Linked DNA regions of Homo sapiens: region 1 is linked to region 2. Evidence: promoter capture Hi-C in 16 types of primary human blood cells and fetal thymus (Javierre and others, 2016). All regions are on one chromosome and are shown on one strand. Each heading gives the region's core, a stretch centred on a gene start or on the middle of the fragment in contact. The rest is flanking DNA. Distances are from core to core; before and after follow the strand shown. Region 1 holds the start of PFN3 (profilin 3). Region 2 has its middle 7.2 kb from the start of N4BP3.

What was found. Contacts are between HindIII fragments. The CHiCAGO score rates a contact against its expected background, and 5 or more counts as called.
Region 1: a contact is called between the fragment with the promoter of PFN3 here and a fragment that was not itself captured in region 2, in 1 of 17 cell types (total B cells). The highest score is 5.7, in total B cells.

What each region holds. Positions count from the first base shown.
Region 1 is chr5:177,398,196-177,403,174 of GRCh38, reverse strand. It overlaps PFN3 (profilin 3), which reads left to right and starts at 2,514. Exons shown (of 1, transcript NM_001029886.3): 1 at 2,514-3,066. The coding sequence starts at 2,599. The coding sequence ends at 3,012. SLC34A1 (solute carrier family 34 member 1) reads right to left here. Exons shown (of 13, transcript NM_003052.5): 13 at 4,327-4,979. The coding sequence ends at 4,889. F12 (coagulation factor XII) reads left to right here. Exons shown (of 14, transcript NM_000505.4): 13 at 477-625; 14 at 716-1,034. The coding sequence ends at 883. RefSeq lists an enhancer at 348-1,205. The HindIII fragment of the contact is 6,138 bases long and covers 1-3,769 here.
Region 2 is chr5:178,104,170-178,108,564 of GRCh38, reverse strand. No RefSeq gene overlaps it. Among named protein-coding and RNA genes, the nearest start is that of N4BP3, 7.2 kb to the left of the region's middle. The HindIII fragment of the contact is 200 bases long and covers 2,337-2,536 here.

The sequences.
Region 1 (4,979 bases), core at 1,265-3,764, 710 kb after region 2:
GTATCGTTCCGGGTGCCTACAGAATGGGTGGCGCTGACCTGATGGGTTGTGAGAATGTGTAGGTGAATCCCAGGTAGAATCCCAGGGCCTGGGATTCACTGCTGGGATCCCCAAATCTCCTGGGGATACAGGGAGAATCGAACTTGCTCTTGGTTCCCTCTGGGCGCCGGGCTGCAAAGGCCAACTAGGACGCTGGCCCCGCGCTCCGGGCTAGTGTGGGAGCCAGGTTCTGCGACTCTGGATGGGTGGTGGGGGAGGGGTTTCTGTTTCCGCTCCGCCCATTCAAATCCTGGCTTTTCTCTGGACCTCAGCCTCCTTGCCTATGAAATTGAATTAATGGCACCTCCTCCCCTTCGGGCTTGCTGCGAGAGAGGAAGGGCATGAGTGGGTTTACAAGCGCCTGGAGCAGCTTTGTCCATCGTCCGGGCGGCAAGCGTTGTCAGATGGGGTGTGAAGAAGGCGCTCTGTGTTCGCAGGGGCGGAGGAATATGCCAGCTTCCTGCAGGAGGCGCAGGTACCGTTCCTCTCCCTGGAGCGCTGCTCAGCCCCGGACGTGCACGGATCCTCCATCCTCCCCGGCATGCTCTGCGCAGGGTTCCTCGAGGGCGGCACCGATGCGTGCCAGGTGAGCTCTTAGCCCGGTTGGCGCCCTTCCCCGAGGCCGTCAGGCACAAATCTCAGGTCCACAGCGCTGAGCTGCGTGTTTCCGACCCAGGGTGATTCCGGAGGCCCGCTGGTGTGTGAGGACCAAGCTGCAGAGCGCCGGCTCACCCTGCAAGGCATCATCAGCTGGGGATCGGGCTGTGGTGACCGCAACAAGCCAGGCGTCTACACCGATGTGGCCTACTACCTGGCCTGGATCCGGGAGCACACCGTTTCCTGATTGCTCAGGGACTCATCTTTCCCTCCTTGGTGATTCCGCAGTGAGAGAGTGGCTGGGGCATGGAAGGCAAGATTGTGTCCCATTCCCCCAGTGCGGCCAGCTCCGCGCCAGGATGGCGCAGGAACTCAATAAAGTGCTTTGAAAATGCTGAGAAGGAAAGCTCTTTTCTTCATGGGTCCCGCCGGGAAATGCCAAGACAGAAAAGCGATTCACAGCTTCTCCACAGCTCTCAGAGAACAAGGTCTATGAGATCTTAACGTGCAAAATCTAGATGCCAGCCCAGCTAATGTTTACTGAGCCTAGGATACTGTATACCAAGCCCTGTGCAAGGAGAAGCTGCATGTTATTCCTTATGAGAAACTAACATTTTGTTTACAGAGCAGTAGTTCTCAGACCATACATTAAGATCACTTGGGGAGCGTTTTGAGCCAATCTATGCCCAAGTTCCACCTCAGACCAATTAAATCAGTATGTCTAGGGATGGGGCATGGGTAGTGGTATATTTGTAAAACTCCCCAGATAATTCCATGTACAGCCAAGGTTGAGAATCGTGGTTAGAAATACTTAGCATTGGCCGGGCGCGGTGGCTCACGCCTGTAATCCTAGCACTTTAAGAGGCCAAGGCAGGTGGATTGCTCAGGAGTTCGAAACCAGCCTGGGCAACACGATGAAACCCCGTCTCTACTAAAATACAAGAAATTAGCCGGGCACGGCGGCGTGCGCCTGTAGTCCCAGCTACTCAGGAGGCTGAGGCAGGAGAATCACTTGAACCGGCAGGAAGGAAGGAAGGAAGGAACAGAGGGAGGGAAAGAGAGAGACAGAAAGAAAAGAAAAAAGAAAATAGAAAAAAAGAGCATTGACTGTGGCGTGGACCCTAAGGGCTGGGTGACATATCGTTGTCCCCACCCCAACACGCACTAGTGTAGTGGGTCTGAGAGTCCCTTGGCTAGCAGTACCATCACCAGGGAACTTGTTACACATAACAAATTCTCGGGCTACACTTTATACTGCTGAACAGAAAGTCTGGGGTGGGGCCCAGCAATCTGTTTAACAGCCTTGCGGGGGATTCTGATGTTCTCTCATGCTTAAGAACCACAATCTGGGGGTTGAATGGTTGGTTCCCTTACAAGTGAAGGTCTGGCTGTCCAGACACAACATCCTTTTTTCACAAAACCAGCTTTTTAAAATTAAAAATAGATTGGCCAGATGCGGTGGTTCACGCCTGTAATCTCGTCACTTTGAGAGGCTGAGGCGGGAGGATTGTTTGAGCTCAAGACTTCCTGACCCGCCTGGGCAACATAGTGAGACCTCATCTCAAAAAAATTTTTTTTAATTAAAATTTGTTTTTGCTTTTTTAGAGACGGGGCCTCGCTCTGTGGCTCAGGCTGGCGTGCAGCGACACGATCCTATAATAGTTTACTATAATCTCGCTACTGAGTTCAAGCGATCCGCCCGCCTCGGCCTCCCAAAGCGCTGGGATTACAGGAGTGAGCCGCTGCGCTCTGCCAAACCCATCCTACAGGATAACCTTAGAACTGCGACAGCACTAAACGCCCACGCCCCACGTGCCCCAGCCTGGGTGGTCGCTCCGGGACGGCGCCTTGTGTGACGTCACAGCCCCGCCCAGCCTGCCTCACAGCGCCGCAGGCCTTCCCCGCGTGGCGCCTCTATATTTCCCCGAGAGGTGCGAGGCGGCTGGGCGCACTCGGAGCGCGATGGGCGACTGGAAGGTCTACATCAGTGCAGTGCTGCGGGACCAGCGCATCGACGACGTGGCCATCGTGGGCCATGCGGACAACAGCTGCGTGTGGGCTTCGCGGCCCGGGGGCCTGCTGGCGGCCATCTCGCCGCAGGAGGTGGGCGTGCTCACGGGGCCGGACAGGCACACCTTCCTGCAGGCGGGCCTGAGCGTGGGGGGCCGCCGCTGCTGCGTCATCCGCGACCACCTGCTGGCCGAGGGTGACGGCGTGCTGGACGCACGCACCAAGGGGCTGGACGCGCGCGCCGTGTGCGTGGGCCGTGCGCCGCGCGCGCTCCTGGTGCTAATGGGCCGACGCGGCGTACATGGGGGCATCCTCAACAAGACGGTGCACGAACTCATACGCGGGCTGCGCATGCAGGGCGCCTAGCCGGCCAGCCAGGCCGCCCACTGGTAGCGCGGGCCAAATAAACTGTGACCTGGGCGCGGCTGGCTCCTCCTCCACTTGCGCGGTGGGGGGAGTTGTAAATAAGGAAACTGGTCTTTGCAAGACGGTTACCTGGTGGAGCCGGGATTTTGAGTCTAGAGGCTGCCAGGCCCCTGTGCCCTACACCCTGCTCTCCCATGGACGCCTTGCAGAGGCTCCTGGCCTGACTGCTGCTCCTTGGCGCGTTCCCAGGGTCCTAGGGACTCCGCAGCTGAGGAAGAGTCCAAGGGTGGGGGCTTCTCAAAGTCTGTTTCAGCCTTAGCGTCCTTTCTCAGAGATATTCCCACACATTAGGCAGGACAAGTAAAGGGAGCCCCCTCCCCATCCCGCGAACACCTCTCCCCATCAGGGTGTCAGGCTGGAGGCCAATTTGCTCCTCCCCCCTCCACTCATACCTCAAGCACTAGCAAGTTGTGAGTGGGTGACAGGATGGGCTTGGTGGCTTGTAAAGCAGTTCTGGGGCTCACAGGCCTCTGCATCTCTGCCCACATTCCTCCAAGGGGAGCCTACTGAGAGGGCTCATGTCCAAGACCATCGCAATTGGGTTTGAGACCTTACATCCTGCCTTCCCCAGGCCTTCGAAAAGGCCCCGCAGGAGTCCCTGGACTAGAGGGAGGAACTCTGGCATCCCTACCCGGGAGTCTCACTCTGCAGGCCTCAGTTTCAGGGTGACCTATGGAGGAGGGGGAATTGAAAAGCTTGGGTAAGTTTGAGGCCTGGTTTATTGCCCAAAGATAGTGGACAAAAGTGGGAGGGAGGGTGTCTGGTCCCTGCCCTCCATGTGCTGGGGCCCAGGGCATGGCCTCTCTTGCCCACCCCCACCCTTCCCGTCCCCTCCCCCAGCGGCCCTGATGGCAGACCCCACCTGTCACTTATTCTGGAGCCCTGATCTTATCCCAGCAGGAAGGAGTGATGTGTGGCTGAGGTGGGTGAATTTAGAGGGCAGAGGGAGACCAGAGGAAGTTCAGCCAGGTGGGGGTCAGGGGGTGGGGGTGCAGAATCCTCCTTACACTTGCCTTGGGGGTGGCCCCAGGCCTAGGAGGGGCTTCCAGGGAGTTTGAATTGTGGTTTGGACTCACTAAGGTAGGGCCAGGCAGATGGTTGGGGTGAGCCTGCAGGGCTGGCTTCTCTGGAACTGCACCTGGCCTGGGCAGGGCAGGCTGCTCTTGCAGCCAGTCTTTGAGGGGAGATGGTGCTGCTGAACCCCCTGGCTTGGTCTTCCCTTTGCCATTGATGGAGAGCAAAAAGACTTCCGAATGCCTGAGGAGAGTTTTAATTCCTTTGTTTTTTTTCCATCAGGCAAGTGTTGGGAAGGGAATTAATTGTGGTGGTGCCGAAGACCTGGGTTAGGATGAGGAGATGGTATCTTGGAGGAAGGAAGGTGGCAAGGAGGTGTGCAAATTCAGTAACGCAGGCACCAACATCTATGCACAAACAGCTGCACAGTCATATACCCAGACCCACCCTTACTCCTGCCTATCCTAGTCATGTGTACACGTGCAGAGGACCTGAAATCATACCCAGATATCCTGCAGCCTGCACACAGCCTCCCACAGGTGTGTCTGTGTACACCTGCATGGGCTGGCACACCTGTACACAAATACAAGCTTCTACACATGACAGGTGCACATGCAGACTCACCCCCACACATGCACACACACCGACACTCTCACACAAGCCCAGAGCTTTGCGGAGCTACAGAAGGAGAGACTGGCACCCAGGGTGGCACAGGCACATGCACATACCTACACACACCCTCCCTCCCCTGCCTTTCCACCCCAGGCCTTCCCCATTCCAGGCTGTAGTCTGGGCCCACAGCCTAGAGGCGGGTGGCATTGTGGTGAGCAGGCAGTGCAAGACGGGGGGAGGGTGTGGCAGGGGGTAGCTCCTCCAGGAAGACCCTGGGGGGC
Region 2 (4,395 bases), core at 1,187-3,686:
CCCAGCTTCAAGACTGGCCCTGCAACTCCTTTAGTCTTCGGGCCAAGCCACTGCTACTGCTTCTGTGCATCTCTGCTCTGGGAGCTGCCTCTGTGTCCTCATCCATAAGTGGCTGGTTGTTGGAATAGTCCATTAAGAGCACCCACTGTCCTCAAGGCCCCTCCTTCTACCCTCAAGGCAAAATTAATCACCCCATCCTCTTGCCGCTCCGGACTTTTTCTGTTTCTTTGCTGTGATGGTGCTTGTCACAGTGCGTTATCCTCTGTCACCCTCAAGAGACAGTGAGCCCTGAGTGTGGGGGACTGGTGGCCAGCACATGTCCAGACTCCCCCAGTTCTTCTTACAGTGCCTGACAGTTAGCCATGCTCAGCTCTAAGACACCATCTGCAAAAAGGCAATTCAGGACTGTTTTCTAACCAGGAGGAGGAGCTGAAGCAAGGCAGCCCTGGCTCTGAATCCCAGTCCTGTCCGTGACTTCCTGGTGACCTTCCTGAGCCTCGGATTCTTCATTGGTAAAGCAGGCAGCATCCCCTGGGCATGTCCAGGGACCTGACAGCTTTGTGTCCCCTGGCCGCCTTTCACTCCTTGCCCTCCCTTGTCCTCTCTCCCCTGGAGCTGGGCCAGGCCCCAGCCTGAGGGAGGAGAGCTGGGCATTCTTGGAGAGGCAGCATCTGAGGGTTTCAGACCTTGCAAAGCGCAGGCTAACAGATAACTCCTGGTGCCGGCCCTAGCTCTGCCAGTCCTCCAAGATTGGTCTTTTACAAATTTTTATTTATTTTTAACATTGTTTTTTAGGCTGGGTAGAGTGGCTCATGCCTATAATCCCAGCACTTGGGGAGGTTGAGGTGGGTACATCACTTAAGGTCAGAGGTTCAAGACCAGCCTGGCCAACATGGAGAAACCCCATCTCAACTAAAAATACAAAATTAGCCAGGGGTGGTGGTGCACACCTATAATCCCAGCTACTTGGGAGGCTGAGGCAGGAGAATGGCTTGAGCCCGGGAGGTGGAGGTTGCAGTGAGCCAAGATCACACCACTGCACTCCAGCCTGGGTGACAAGAGCAAAACTCCGTCTCAAAAAAAAAAAAAATTTTTTTTTTGTAAAATAGAGGCAAGGTCTATGTTGCCCAAGCTGGTCTCAAACTCCTGGGCTCAAGCAATCCTCCTGCCTCAGCCTTCCAAAGTGTTGAGATTACAGCTGTGAGTCGCCACATCCAGCCCAAGATTGTTCTAAAACTGTGTCACAGAGGGGTATTGTGGCTGTGGGGCAGAGCCAGTGGGGCTGTGCACCCACCCAGCCTCCCCAGCCCTCCCCACTCTCGCACCTGGGGTCAAAGTGGACTCCTGGACCTGGGCTGCCTCCCCGAGTCAGCAGAGCTGGAGAGGAGCCTTCGTTCACTCCTCCTGCTTCCTCTTCCCTGGGTCCCCCCACCCCCAGGGGTGACTGGGGCAGCCCCAGGCAGGAGGTTGGGGTGGAAGTTGAGAGCTGCCATGACTTGCTCAGGTGTCTGCCCCGGGGCAGACCTCAGACCTTCAGGAGCCCATGAGGACTCACACCCCGGAAGTCCAGGCAGTCCAACTGGCCCACTCATGCACCACTGGGACTACAGGTGTGAGATTACCTGCCCCGACCTCCCTAAGTGCTGGGGTTACAGGCCACCGGAAACCTGGACCAGCCCCACAGCTAAGTCCAGGTGGAGCTGCCACCCCAGATGGTAACACGGTACTTTGCCCAGAAACTCCTGGGCTGCAGTCCCTCAGTTGCAGTGATTTATGGCAAGGGGTTGGGGGTGGACGAAGTCTGGAGGAGTCATTGTGAAACTACAGCAGCACCATGAAGAGAGCTCCGGGGATGGGTGGCACGACGGTGCACATGTGCTTCACACCACTGAACTGGACACTTCAAGATGGTTAAGAGGCCGGGTGTGGTGGCTCATGCCTGAAATCTCCCAGCACTTTTGGAGGCTGAGGTGCGTGGATCACAGGAGGCCAGGAGTTCAAGACCAGCCTGGCCAACATGACAAAACCCCGTCTCTACTAAACATACAACAATTATCCAGGCATGGTGGTACACACCTGTATCCCAGCTACTCGGGAGGCTAAGGCACGAGAATCCCTTGAATCCGGGAGGCAGAGTTTGCAGGGAGCTGAGAGAGGACTGATGTACTTCAGCCTGGGCGACAGTGCAAGACTCTGTTTCAAAAAATAGTTAGGTTTTGTGTGCATTTTACCATGATTTGAAATGTTTTAGGCCAGGTGTAGTGGTGCACACCTGCAGTCCCAGCTACCCAGGAAGCTGAGCCAGGAGGATTGCTTGAGGCCAGGAGTTAGAAGCTTGTGACTGGGCCACTGCACTCCAGCCTGGGCAGCAGAGCAAGACTCCACCTCTTAAAAAAAAAAAGAGACAGAAAAAAAAAAAATCTGTGTAATACAGTGACTTGGATTGTCACAGTCCAGAGTTGTCCAAAAGGTGCTGGCCATGGGCCACTATTTTTTTTTTTTTAACCAAGACTTTACCTAGATTATTTTTAAAGCTTAATTACAACAATTTTCGAATATACACAAAGGTAAAGGGAGGGAATTTTTAAAAACTCCCACGTACCCACTGCCTGCCTTTAAAAGTTACCCAGCAGAGGCTGATTTTATTTACTTCCACACAAACCCTCCCACACTCCAGGGTTCTTTTTTTTTTTTTGAGACGGAGTCTTGCTCTGTTGCCCAGGCTGAAGTCCAGTGGTGCAATCTCAGCTCACTGCAACCTCCACCTCCTGGGCTCAAGCAACTCTCCTGTCTCAGCCTCCTGAGTAGCTGGGACTACAGGCACATGCCACCATGCCTGGCTAATTTTTGTATTTTTAGTAGAGATGGGGTTTCACCATATTGGTCAGGCTGGTCTCGAACTCCTGACCTCAGGTGACCCACATGTCTCAGCCTCCCAAAGTGCTGGGATTACAGGCATGAGACACCACGACTAGCCTATTTATTTATTTTAGAGACAGGGTCTTCCTCTGTTGCCCAGGTTGAAGTGCAGTGGTGTAGTCATAGCTCACTGCAGGCTCAAACTCCTGGGCTGAAGAGATCCTCCTGCCATGGCCTCCCAAAGTGCTGGGATTACAGGCATGGGCCATTGTGCCTGGCCTAAATTGTAATAATTTTACAGTTTGCCTCAAACGAGGACTGACGTCTAGGCAAGGTCTGCTGGGGGCCTCCCACATGCAGGCAGTCTCTCTGCTGTGCCCTCCACCAGCTCCGAGGGCCCCCTGCCCACAAGCACCGCTCTCTCCTTTCCCCTCTGGGGAAGGCCAGGAGAAGTGACTTTTGAGGTTACCTGAAGGACTTCTGTCTGTTTGGAAAAGGGTGTGAAGCTGAAGCCGATGGCCTCAGTGCCCAAAGGGGAACGCTTCCCACTGGCCTATGGAAGCCACAGGCCTGACAGTGGGGTCCTGGTCTTGGGGGTCTCAGCCACGTGGCCACCCATTCCTTCCTCACTTAGGCATCCACCTAGCGGTCTGCTCACACCCCCTTCCATCTATCTGTGTTCAGCCAATCAGGCAAGCCAGGGTTATAGCCCTCCCTGCCCTGGGCCCTGGCTCCATGAAGCACCATGGGCCTTGGAAGACCTCCCCAAATCATCCTGTCCCCCCAATATCTTCTGCCAAGGCAGAAGTTTCCCCGGGCCCCTGCTCTGGTCCGCTTCCTTGGCACAGTTTGTAGCTGTGCCTGATACAGCCCACCTACCTGGCTTCTGTCCCAAACCCGCAGCCAGGCCATGTGACAGCTGCTGCCTGTGCCCAAACATTCATCCAGCCCCACCCAGGAGAGCCAGGCAGGCACTCACACACTCTCACCCACACACCCTCACCCGCACACCCCCACCCACACCCTCCCCCACACACCCCCACCCACACACCCTCACCTGCCTGGCCCTGCCACACCCCCACCCCACCCTCCCTCTAAACCTACTGGGGCAGCAGCTTCCCCTACCTTCCGCCTGCTCCACCTCCTCCTAGAGCTGTCTTACACACAGTTTCCCATGCCCTTGGCAGGTTGGTCATGGCCCTGGCAGGTCTGAGGACAGGGTGGGCACAGGACTGTGTGCAGCATAGAAAAGTCAGGGAGTGCAGCCTCCTACTCTGTGCCAGCTGCCAGCCCCTGGAGCTTACCAGGTTGACGGGGACAAAGAATGCACCAGAGGGAACAGTGACCAGCCTGGGCAACAGAGCAAGACCCTGTCTCAAAAAGGAAAAAAAAAAATGGGGAGGAAGGCGATTGGGCAGAGGGCACCAGCAGAAGAGCTCTGGATCGAAGTGCCTGACAGAGGAGTCCCCCGTTAGAAAAGGTCCTGATACTAAGGGAGGAGACCACCCCTCATATTGTCTTATGCCCAATTTCTGC